Linked DNA regions of Homo sapiens: all the other regions are linked to region 2. Evidence: promoter capture Hi-C in 16 types of primary human blood cells and fetal thymus (Javierre and others, 2016). All regions are on one chromosome and are shown on one strand. Each heading gives the region's core, a stretch centred on a gene start or on the middle of the fragment in contact. The rest is flanking DNA. Distances are from core to core; before and after follow the strand shown.

Region 1 (4,080 bases), core at 555-3,054, 550 kb after region 2:
GCCAGATTTAAGTTACAGGACTTGGATTCTTGTTTATACTCTTGGTGTTGGCAGCTGAGTGACTTTGACCAAGTTGCTCAACTTCCCTGAGCTCCATTTTTCTTTATATAGAAATGGAGAAATAATAATATCTATTTCAAAAGTTCTTGTGAAGATTAAATTAGATAATACATGTAAAAATGCTATAAAATTATAAACCATTGTTTATAATCATATGACACAACTGCATTTGTTTACCTGACTGAATACTAGACAAAATATCACATTAGGGCAAAGTTTGTGTCTCTTTTATCTTAATTATTCCCATTAAGCTAGATCATAATAACTGGTATATATACATACATACATACATATATACATAGTAAATGCTCAGTGAATGCTTATTTCAAGTTATCGTGTAAAATAGAGGAGGTTTTCTAGAGAAGTGAAAAACTATATTTACCCTATATTTCAAATTTAATCCCTGAGAAGATAGAGAAAAAATCGTGGAGAAGGAAAAGACATGAAAATTAATTTTACAAACATTCTTTTCCAAAGACTTTTCTAGGTCCTTGCAGAATTATCTCAGAAAATCATTTGAATATCCTCACCAAATAAGAATTATTACAACCACTTTTGTAGACAAACAAGGCTCTAAGGGCTAATAAATTTACTAATTTTATTCAGCTGGTACATGGTTTAAATCAAGATCATATTCTCAACAAAGCCCTTGTTCTTTGGATTCCACTGCCTTTTCCTAACTACACTGGATTGCCTTGGGTCTCTTAGTTATTCATTATGAAAGAAAGGGAGCCCACTTTTTAATTGGCCAAAAATAAATATTTGTCCCCTCAACCATCTGTCATTATGTCTGCAATCACCACTGTTAGCTGGACATCTTTAATGTTTCCCAAATTGTGTTTTCATGAAAAAGTGGTCTCATGGAATGTTGCACAAATAAAGAGTCACATATTATGTCCTTCCACAGAGATTCACAGAGTACTATAACAAAATAAGGGCTCTGTGAAGTCCTAAGCCAAAGAAATCTGTTCAAAATAGCCAAGAGGGTCTTTTGACCATGAAAGCCTTCCCCTCACCACATAGAATGGATTAACATTCAAGGAAAGAGGACTACACATTGGGAAATATTGCCTTACAGCCTTCTAGGAGCAAGTATTCTTTAATTAGAGAAAACATGACCATTGCATGAGACGTAAAACTTGCTTACACTGTGATAGAATTTGTTTTATTGTTCAAGCCTAATTGTATCCTCTTTAGTAGGAAGTAAACCAGAGTGAAATAATAAAACACACAGTGTTTCTCAACACAGCAGGTGCCTGGGAGAAAGGTTCTGGGCCACTTTGAGCTGTGGTTCCCTGAAGGAGGAGTTGCTAAAGATAAGGGGTACACAGGTTGTCCCTGAGGACAGATATACCTTCTCGATTTTATTTGGGGTGGTTCCTAGGTAATGAAAGGAGATAGTTCTTAGCAATAAGAAAGTAACTATGATTCTACTATTTAAACTTTCAGTTATCCTTTAGGGATAATGGAATAAATGGCTTGTTGAATTGTGAGATGCTCATGAATTAATCCCTCATGGAGAAATTGTGCATACAGGCTAAAGCCCATACTGAAACTGAGTAGGACACTGGGGCTAGATCGTAAGCTTTCTTATATCTGGACTAACTTCTCCCAAGAGAGGGTGATGGGGAGTGTGTTTTAATGTCTTGTAAAATGCCTCTTAAGGGAAGGAAGTTTATCAGCCATGGAAGAACCTGAAAAAGGTGACACTGAAGAATATGCCACAAATCGGCATTCATTGATTCTGAAACAAGAAATAGTAGAGAGGAAAACTCTTCTCTCCTAACAATGGTCCATAATAGCACCTAGAGTAGGAACTTCTGCCCCACACAATCTGCCCTGATAGGGAAGAACTACCATTTAGATAATCCTGCCTGAGTCTGAGGAGATAGCACTGTATCAGAAAGCTTAATTCATGCCATTATATTTCAAATATTCTTCAGTGTAGCTTTCCTGGTAATAAAGCTAATATTTCCATGGCCAGATACAGGATTCCTGCATTCATCTCTCAATTGGTTATGAACTTGGGTTGGAACTGGGGGTTAAATAGGCATTATAATTATCTCCTAAACTCACTGAAGTACTTTGCTTACATTCCCTGTGATGCTCTTAGGCATGGGAAGTCAGCAGGAAAATACTGCAGAATGTCACTCATGGGTCTCACCCCACCTGCCCTGGCAGTCACTTCATTCGCCAGCCCTTGATACTCACTCAAGATGTGAAAGAGCTTTTTCTCTCTCACTCAGCAACTTGTTTTCTTTAACTGATTTTGGCAATCTTATTCTATATTCTGGGAAATTTGACAAGTAAAATAAAGTTGCTCAACTAGAATGACATCTTGGTTCTGCATACTATTTTCAATAAAACTATTGATTTCAGACTCACAGACACCAGAAACACACTAACTATTCAACAACAAACTCAGAATATGTTTGTCTTTTATATAAAGACAAAGACCTGACTTCTATGCTCTACTTCTGATACCTGTATTTAATAGGCACTAAGATATTTGTTGAGTAAATGAAATGAAGGAGTGTTACCAGACCCTGGGTCAGTTATTGGTAAAAATTTGCTACAAACTTATGTCACTTGTGTCTAATATATAGATAAGATCAGGGCATACAAATTCTACCTAGTTCTCTTCTTTTGTACTGAGGTGATATTCACAGAAAATGAGGCCAGAAAAATGACATTGCCTATTATGGGATTTGGCCTCAAGTCCCTCTTTAGTCTCCTATGGAGAAGACGTACAGTATATTTAAACCACAGAGACTATTTCTCCCTAGAAAGAGGCAGGCGTGGGAACTCTGGCTCTAGTTGTGCCCCTTCAATCCTATCTGTTCCAGCTAGGCATGCTAAGGAAATTTGAAGGGGATCAAGGGCAAAAGATGTTATTTTTTCTTCCCAAATGGTAACCAATCTGTGAACTATCTTACAGTACCAACCCCATAGGAGGAAAAAAATGAAAAGTGACTGTGATGGTTAATTTTATGTGGCAACTTGACTGGGCCATGGGCTGCCCAGATATTTGGTTAAATATTATCCTGGATTTGTCTGTGAGGGTATTTTTAAAAGAGATTAAAGTTTGAATCTGTATACTGAGTGAAACAGATTGCCTTCCCCAATGTGGGTGGGCCTCATCCAATCCACTGAAGACCTGAATAGAACAAAAAGCTCAGTAAGGAAGAATCCGCTCTCTCTGACTGTTTTGGGGCTGGGACATCAGTCTTCTGCCTTTGAACTCAGACTCAGACTGGAGCTTACCTCCTCAGTTCTCCTGGTTCTCAGGCCTTCAGACTTGGACTGGAACTATACCACTAGCTCTCCTGGGTCTCCAGCTTGCCAGCTGCAGATCTGGAGACTTCTCAGCCCCATAATCATGTCAGCCAATTCCTTATAGCCAATATCTCTCGATAGATGGATGGATGGATGGATAGACAGATACACGTTCTATTGGTTCTGTTTCTTCAGAGAATTCTGATTAACACATGGACCAAAGGCCAAATAATCTATATGGAGAAAATGTCTCAACAATGCTAATTTTTTAATCTCTTTAGTCATCACAAGGAAAACACCACTCTCTAACATGGTTAGTTTGTACCCATACTCTTGATTCAGACCAAAATTCCTTATCCCTAATGAAAGGCTGTGATTATTGGCCTAGCAACTGGAATGTGAACTAAAACCTACCAGTCAGGAACAAATGAAGCCATACACAAACTGGGCATTAACTCCATTCTGGAGAGCAAAGCATTTTCTTCAGATGACTGAGATAACCCAGTTTGCTTAGGATATTTGTCCAGGATAGGGATTTTCATAAGGAGAACTAATTGTCAAGTTCCCTGCACTAGATGAATTTCTGACAGGTTTACTGCTTCATGAAAAGAAATGTCATTTACTAAAGGAGTTGCAAGTCAATATGTGTTCTGAAATTGCAGTTGTGATTCTTGGAGGTTGCCAGAACACATAAAACAGAAAACATAGTGAAAATATCTGTCTACACAATGGAAGTTAAAGTGA
Region 2 (3,868 bases), core at 94-2,593:
AGACACGACGGTGAGAGGCACCCTTCACAGGAAAGGTTGGTTCGATTTTCAGAGTCGACTGTCCAGTTAAATGCATCAGAAGTGTTAGCTTCTCCGGAGTTAAAGTCATTACTGTAGAGCCTGGTGTCATCATTTAATTGCATTAGGGAGTTCGTAGTTGAGCTCAAAGAAGTATTTTCTTCACAAAGAATATCCATGTCTAAGCCAGAACTTGTAGCAGATGAGGTGTAGAAGGACTAACAGGTTATAGTTTCTGCTCACCATTCACCTTGATGTACCCACACTCTGTAACACTGAGGCTGGTGTACATGCTGTTCTCCCGGGGCTGGATTTTTGTCTTCCATTATTACAATGATAGTTAAAGAACTGAACTGTGGTGGCTGTAAGTTTTCTTCATTCACAATTTTAGGAGAGTCCACTGTTTGGTTTTATTATTTTCTCACCAAACCGAGGACAAAAAAGCAGAATGAACTTTTAGCATAGAGGTTGCAGGGTTTTTTTTGAGCGCTCGGGAAGATAAATGTCCTGGACAAAGAAGAAAAGTTTTATAACTACTGGGACTCTTGTTTAACTATATCTCATTTTGTTGGTTATGCCGATGGTACTAGTTTAGCAACAGTATTATTAAAATAGCATGCAATCAGAAACAGTGGGGATGTACACATTCTACATTAAGAAAGTCAATTAAAAATACATCCAGTGTTAATCCCATAGTAATTGGATGTACTTTGGGTTACAGTTCTCAGCCATTCTTAAGCTGAATTGCCACAGCTGCTGTCAGGAATTTCAGCTCCTATAATGTTGCTTAGCTAATAAAAGGAAAACAAAAAAGTCTTAAGTAAAGATTAGCAGACAACTTTCCTCCCTGGAAATTCTCATTGAAATGATTACATGTTGGCCAAGCATGATTTCAAACCGGAAAGAAAATTACACAGCAATAAAATATAGCGGCATGAGAACTTACATTTGTCTTCAGGGTCCACACATGAGATACATTTGTTATTCTGTGACTCGCTGCATCTCTCACAGTAATTAAACTGGTGTAGAGTCCCCTCTTCTTGATCTTCCACCAGCATAATATGATAGTAATTTGGTTTCTGTTTTGCTGACTTCAAAAACTGCATGCAAGAGCTGAGCCAGCTCCCGCACTGCTAGGATCCTGTTGGCTTCCTCTGGCACGGCTCGGCTGGGTTCCTCCCTCCCTGTGCGGCTCGCCTCAGCAGGCACACATTTAGAAATCATTCACGAGCCCCTCAAAGTCGCACAAAAGAACTGCATGGGAAAGTAGGAAGAGCTGTCTGCACCAAGGGACTCCTGGTTTCCACGGGAATGGAGTAGCTCTCTGACTGTCTCGTTCATTTCATCAGACCTCCCTCTATGTGTATGTCATAAGCTGCAAGGTAGCAACAGCCAGGAGGGCGGACCAAACAGGCTTTTTCTTCTCCCTCTTTTTGCTACATATTAATATTGGGAAGTTTTCCTTTGCTTTTGAGAGAAACTGGAGAAATGGCCTTTTGTGCAGATTCCCATTAAGGTAGGTAAGTGGCACTGTGGTAATTTTTTAGGCTGAAGGGTGAAGAGAGAACATAAATAAGGCTAGAAAACAGTATGTCCTCGGAGTGCTGTGAGTGTCCGGCACTTCCATCCAAAGCCAACAGTGTTTGTGTCCAGAGTGGAATTACTGACATTGGCCACATAGGCTCAGGGTGGCTAGGCACGTCTGTGGTGATAACTCTGATAAACTATTAGCACTATTTTTATTTAATAGATACACCATTGAACTGGCTTATTTTCTTCAGCAGAAATATGCCACCCAGATATTATTCAAAACCTCACATGTGGTAGGAAATAAGTTGGTTTCGCAGTACCAATTTTTTTCCCCCACCAGTAATGACAACTTGCCTTACTTGTAAAGAAAGCCCTTTCCCAAGTAGGTTTCTAAAGGAGGCAGTTCGATCTCTCTCTTTTTGCAGGCATGAAAATATTTTCCTCAATAGTTGGGTTTTGCTACAGTTCTATCACCTTCTGTTCTTCACATTCTCCCTGGACAAATTCAACCACTCTCATGCCTTCAATATGTTTGTGGCCAAGTCTGTACCTTCATAGCTGATTATTTCTCTCAGTTCCAGACCTAAATCTCTAGCTGCCCATTGGCTCCTTCCATGGTAGCCTGGGAGACCTTGACCTCAGCATCTTCCCTCACTCCGCATCCCCCTGCCCGGCTCTCAGTGCTTGTTCCTACCCATTGGCTTGCATGATGGAATCACCACCTCTTCAGACAGCTGCTGTTATCCGCGACTCTTCCTTCATTCTCGCTGCCAGATCCCACTTCGTCTCCGGTGCTACCTCTGTATGCGTGTTTCTCACATGTCCTCTCCTGCAGCCTGCAGCTGGCACCCTGTGGTCGAGATCTAGCCACCTATTTCCTGGGTGGGTGCCTTAGTGCCCCCCTCACTGCCATGCCTGCCACCCTCCTACCCCTCCACGTTAAATATGCACGCTGGCGAGCAGGCAGCGGAGAACACAGACCTTAGAGTTCCTTGGTTTTGGATCCTAGCTCTATCACTCATAAACAGTAGAACCTCGCCTCATCTAGTTGCTCCCTTTAAAGCTCAGTCTTCTCACTTGTAAAATGGGATAATACCTTCCTCATAAGATTGTAGTGAAGCTAAACTGAGATAATGTGTGTAAGTATTTGGCCCATGTCTGGCTTATAGGAGGTTCTCAAGTAATGTCAGCCACTTTCATTCCTATTGATATTCTTACTGATATTAATGACACAATTGGCATCACTCCCATGCCTACACTCCTGCAGTCCCTTCCTTGTGGGGCACATAACACTTTTCTTCATCTACCTGTACCCTGCTTGCCCCACTTTGCAGGCCTGGACTCTGGTTACTCTCCCAGTCAGCCTGTATGCAGACTGAACTTACATGTTTCTGACCATTTTTATGTCTCTGTACTTGTACTTCCCTGTGCCCGGAGTGCTCTTACCATTCCTTTTTTGTGTGTGTCCATCTGGCAAATTCGTGCTTAGTTCCAGAGCAGCTCTGGATCCCAGGCCTACCACTCACCACATCTGTAAGCGTGATTAAGCTACCTAATCTCTGTGTTTTAGTCTCCTCATCCGCAAGTAGGGAACATTAATAATAAAAAGACCTCAGGATTGACGTGAAAGCCAAATAAATTTACATATTTGCCTGGCACATTTTAAGCACTCAATAAAGGTTAGTTGCTATTATTCTTACTAAGTTTACTGTTCCTAAGCTTTCTGTAGCCCTCCTTCCCAGTGGAGGCAAAGACTATAGCACCTTCTGCAGCCTTCTATTTTTAACACATCATGTCTCATGTAAGCCTCATAAAGGCAGGAACTGTGTCTATCTTGTTAACAGCTGGGCGCATAGTGCTTAAGTATGTTTGTTGAATGAATGCATGACATCTGTGTAAATGTCTGTCTTCTCTATTAGATGTTGAACTTCATTTCCATACCCTTAATATAGATGTAATCTATATTACATCTATCTTATACTATTATATTATCCACCCAGATGCAATTCATAAACCTCACATGTGGTATCTAAGCATGGTATCTCATAATGGAAGGTCCTCAACAGATGTGTTCTGACTGAATTGTTATTAGCATAAATTAAGATGAATTGATTATTAAAAAGGAGAACCAGGGAGAAACTTAGAACCTCTCATTTTTTCTTGTTACTTTGTTTATTGGGATACCAATTTAATTTTATTAAAGATAGCAGAGGGAAATGTAATATAAAAAATACTCCAGTGTCAGGAAGTTATTCAAAAGTTTTCTGAGGTTAAATTTTATAGATGTTCTTGTTATAGCTCTTAGAGAATTCTGATGATC
Region 3 (4,055 bases), core at 1,432-3,931, 530 kb after region 2:
GTCTGCTTGTGCAACCAAAGTACCTCTGATTAGACTTAGGGAAATTCTGTACAAGGTTGAAATTTTAGCATGGTTGGAAAAAGCATTTTCCACATGAAGACTTTTAATATCTTAGTTACTAGAAAAAAGAGGAGAAAACATTGTCTGGTAAGCTTTGAACTGTGACTGTAGTTTTCAGATGACAGGTAAGGAGCTGAGATGGCTAATTATTATCCAAGAGGAGTCATTAAAATATTAGCTCATGAAGTGTGATTAAAGAATGCAAGCTTACACAAAACTGTGTATTTTTCTTTACACTGGGACCTGAAAAGTTACTTTTATTATTATATATTATACCATCATTATTATTATTTCTAAAATAATAATATGACATTACATTACTAGCTTGAGTCTCATCACTTCCAAATGTGATCTTGTGCTGGCTTTCATGGAGGAATTCTAGAAGAGTAGCTTGTCAAAGGAGCAAATTTCTAGTATTCCCAAAACTGAGTGATGCAATTATTATTTTCCACCTGCTAACTTCCCAGAATATCAACATTTCTTAGCATTGAGCTTACTCTGGGCCATTTCCTACAGATGTAAACTTTTCTCAAAAAAGCCCTTATAAAAATATAATTATACAAGTTCATCGAACACTGTGGAGAAAGAAAGAGGTGGGTTTGACACCCAGACATAGCCTATGAGACACAATGGAATGAAAACATTTATTCAATTTTTAAATTTTTAAAAATCTAGTAAAGATGATTTTTAAATGTAAAGGAATAAAACAAAGAAATAATTCCTGGGAGATAAGTAAAGCAAGTGAAAAGAACACCAAACTATAGATCAAGGATCAAAGGTTTAAGTCCCACTTGAATATATGACTCCTATTATTTTTCAAAACACATTTATTGAAGTTTAATTCATAAACAATAAAACTCACCTTTTAATGTACAATTCTATGAGTTTTGACAATGCAATCACCACCATAATTAAAATACGGAACATTTCCATCGTACCAAAAACTTCTTTCATGCCTCTTTATAGTCAAACCTTCCTTTGGGTTGACTATAAACAATTCACAATTTCTAGTTTTTTGTGATCCAATCCTCCTTGTAGTTTTGTTGAGCTAATATCAGCTGCTTTGTCTTCTCTGTGTTTCAGTTGGCCCCTTCCCCGCCAACCACTGAAGAATAAGACACTGTCGTTTCCAGTGCAACAGCTTTGAGTCCAACATCTATATAAGTTACTCTTTTCGCTGAAATTCAGTGTCACTTTACAGTCTATAAATTGATTGTATTTTTGTGTCTTATCTGAGAAATTACTTGTGAACCCAAGATCACAAACATTTACTATGTAGTCATCTAGAAATTTTAGGCTTTATATTTAGATCCATTCTGAGGAGTTAGTTTTTGTACATGCATCTATATCCAAGATTGTTTGCATGAGGTATAAATTATGGGTCTTTTTTGCATGTGGATATTCAGTTATGTGTACATTATTTTTGGAAAAGACTATGCTAACATATTGTCATTTGACACTGGCAGTTACCTGGGACCTCAGCTGGTGTTGTCTACCATACCAGTGGTATGTGGGCTCTTCATTTGTTCTGGGCTTCCTTCCAACAAGCTTGTGACAATGTAGTCAGACTACTTATGCAACAGCTTAGGGCTCCAAGAGCGAGTGCTCCAGCCAAGAAGGCAAAAGCTGCATCACCATTTATGCCTTAGTCATAGCATCACTTCTGCTATACTCTATTGGCTCATGTGGCTACAAGCCCACCCAGATTCAAAAGAATGAATAAGAGGACAGAGGAGGCCACACTGAAGAAAAGCATGCAGAAGATTAATATTATTGGGGACTTCTTTAGAAAATACAATCTGCTACATCGAGCCCTTTTAATTTTATTATGCTTAATCCGAGAAAGTCACTGGAAGTTGTCCTACTTCCAAAGTCTTACAAAAGTGGCTTTTTGGATTCCTGGACAACATGAACTTCCATGAGGCAATATTAGCCTTGGGGGAAAAAATAGACTTATTGACTTGACTGAATCCTGGCAGGAGGACAAGATAGCTCAGAAAAAGTACACCTTAATTCTATTTTCCTTTGGGTGCCTGTATATGGTCACAGAATTTTACATTCCCCTGAGGTATTAGAGATGTGAAGACTGAGAAAGGAATAGGAGAGGAATACCTTAGAGATGCCACTATTTTTCTGTTGGCACCCCTCCCCCAATATCCCATGGCTGAGAAAAGGGATATGACCCTGAGGGTTTGGGTCCTGGTCTTTTCCTTCACATGAATATGTAGCTTGGACACAGGACTATAAACCTGGATCTGTCATCTCTCACTGTTCAGAAGAGCAGACAGTACAATGAGATACATGCACTTTAAAAATGGCTGTCTTCTTCCACATAGGTTAAACCCATATTCTTTTACTTTTTTTTTTTTTTTAGAAAAAGGAAAACTAATAGGATAATCAAATATCCGAGTAGAGACTGTCAAAGCTTACTAAGAAAGAAAGAGTAATATAAATTAGCCTTGGGATTGTCCATAAAAAACAATTCAGTGGAACATATACAATGTCCTTTTTACGGTTTAATCTTTACAGACACACATATTCTTCACTTATGTACTTCTCATAACACAGCCATTTGCTGATATTTGTATTTAATCAAGACTTTCTTCCTAACCTCTGTTATTGGCTACATCTTTGGGGATCACTTTATGGAATGTGGGCAGTCATCATTAGGTATGGTATCCAGGCTCTCGGAGGGCTATTTCTTGCCCTTTTATACCAGTTCACATAGAATCAGTGTGTGACATAGCTAAACAATTTAAATCTTCATTGTAAAAGCCAACAGGTTAAAATAATTTCTACCACTTCCAGGGTTGGATTAGAAGCTTAGATAGGCTGGAGCCTTAGGAGAACCCTAAGTGATTTTACTTTGAGTTTCTGGAGAGGACTGATGCTTGAGAAATGTGGAAGTTGCCCTCAAGAGGAGGAAAAGACCCGTGATTTTATTCATGCAGATGTTATATTCCCTGAGTATGAGAATAAAAACAGCTGGTTATTGGAGAGTTGAGCGTGTTAGGATTGGAATCTAGAAAAGTTGTTTTTCCAGGATATCTGAGTGGCTAATCAAAGAGCAGCACATGCTCTCTATAGCTTAAGTGAGAAATATGGCACAGGAAACAATCCTTTTAGATAGAAACAGGCACAAGTTCCAATCTGTAAACAAATGTAAATATAAAAGTTGTAAACTGTAATAAATGTAAACTTCCCTGAAGTCCAAAAAAGTCAGCATGTGACATAAGTTGAAGGAAGTTTATTTTTAAAAGCCCAAAGATGGTGGTGGACTGAGCATACGTTTTACCTTCTGCATTACCAAGCTGCACGCCCTTCCCTCACAAATAATAAAAAGGGGGAGGTGGGAAAAGAAACAAGCACTGAAAGAAAGAGGATGAATAAGTGAATGAATGAAACATCTTAACAAACCTTTGGAAGTGGGAAGCACATAAGCAGGTTAATGAATGAAGCAGGCAGAGACACTGAAGCCTTGAGTACACTTGGAAGAAACTACAGAGAGGCTGGTCAGTTAGTTGGGCAGAGATCTGAACACCTCTGAGCTAAGAGTCAGCAAGCAGAGCAAGTGGCAGGAAGAAAAAGTGAAAATTAAAGGTGTAATTGAAGGTCAATAAATATGAACTGCAGACCACTTAGCCAATAAAACAGCCACATCCATTATGTAGCCATAACCCCACATATATGTAATTGGGGTATCAAAAAAGAGGCAAGAATGGGAGACAATTTTTTTATTTGTGAGGGAAGGGCGTGCAGCTTGGTGATGCAGAAGTGAAGCATATGACCAGGTCCGCTCCCATGTTTTTAAAATTGTTATTTTTAAAAGCATAACAATTTCTAAGCATGAAGAGCCCAGACAGTGGACCTTTGCTCATAAAAGTAAAACCTGGCCTACTTGCCTGTAAAGAAATTAAATTAAGTGCTTCGAGAAAATGAAAATTTCTAGGGTTCACGTGGGCACAAAATAATAAAGTTCTCTTCATTGTTATAAT

The links. The method cuts DNA at HindIII sites, captures the fragments that hold promoters and counts their contacts. A CHiCAGO score of 5 or more calls a contact.
Region 1: a contact is called between a fragment that was not itself captured here and the fragment with the promoter of HTR2A in region 2, in 3 of 17 cell types (M0 macrophages, M1 macrophages and M2 macrophages). The highest score is 9.4, in M0 macrophages.
Region 3: a contact is called between a fragment that was not itself captured here and the fragment with the promoter of HTR2A in region 2, in 2 of 17 cell types (M0 macrophages and M2 macrophages). The highest score is 8.2, in M0 macrophages.

Annotation. Positions count from the first base shown.
Region 1 is chr13:47,445,674-47,449,753 of GRCh38, forward strand. No RefSeq gene overlaps it. Among named protein-coding and RNA genes, the nearest start is that of LINC00562, 480 kb to the right of the region's middle. The HindIII fragment of the contact is 322 bases long and covers 1,644-1,965 here.
Region 2 is chr13:46,895,710-46,899,577 of GRCh38, forward strand. HTR2A (5-hydroxytryptamine receptor 2A) reads right to left here and starts at 1,344. Exons shown (of 4, transcript NM_000621.5): 1 at 965-1,344; 2 at 1-525. The coding sequence starts at 197. The HindIII fragment of the contact is 5,377 bases long and covers 1-3,265 here.
Region 3 is chr13:47,424,674-47,428,728 of GRCh38, forward strand. No RefSeq gene overlaps it. Among named protein-coding and RNA genes, the nearest start is that of LINC00562, 510 kb to the right of the region's middle. The HindIII fragment of the contact is 397 bases long and covers 2,484-2,880 here.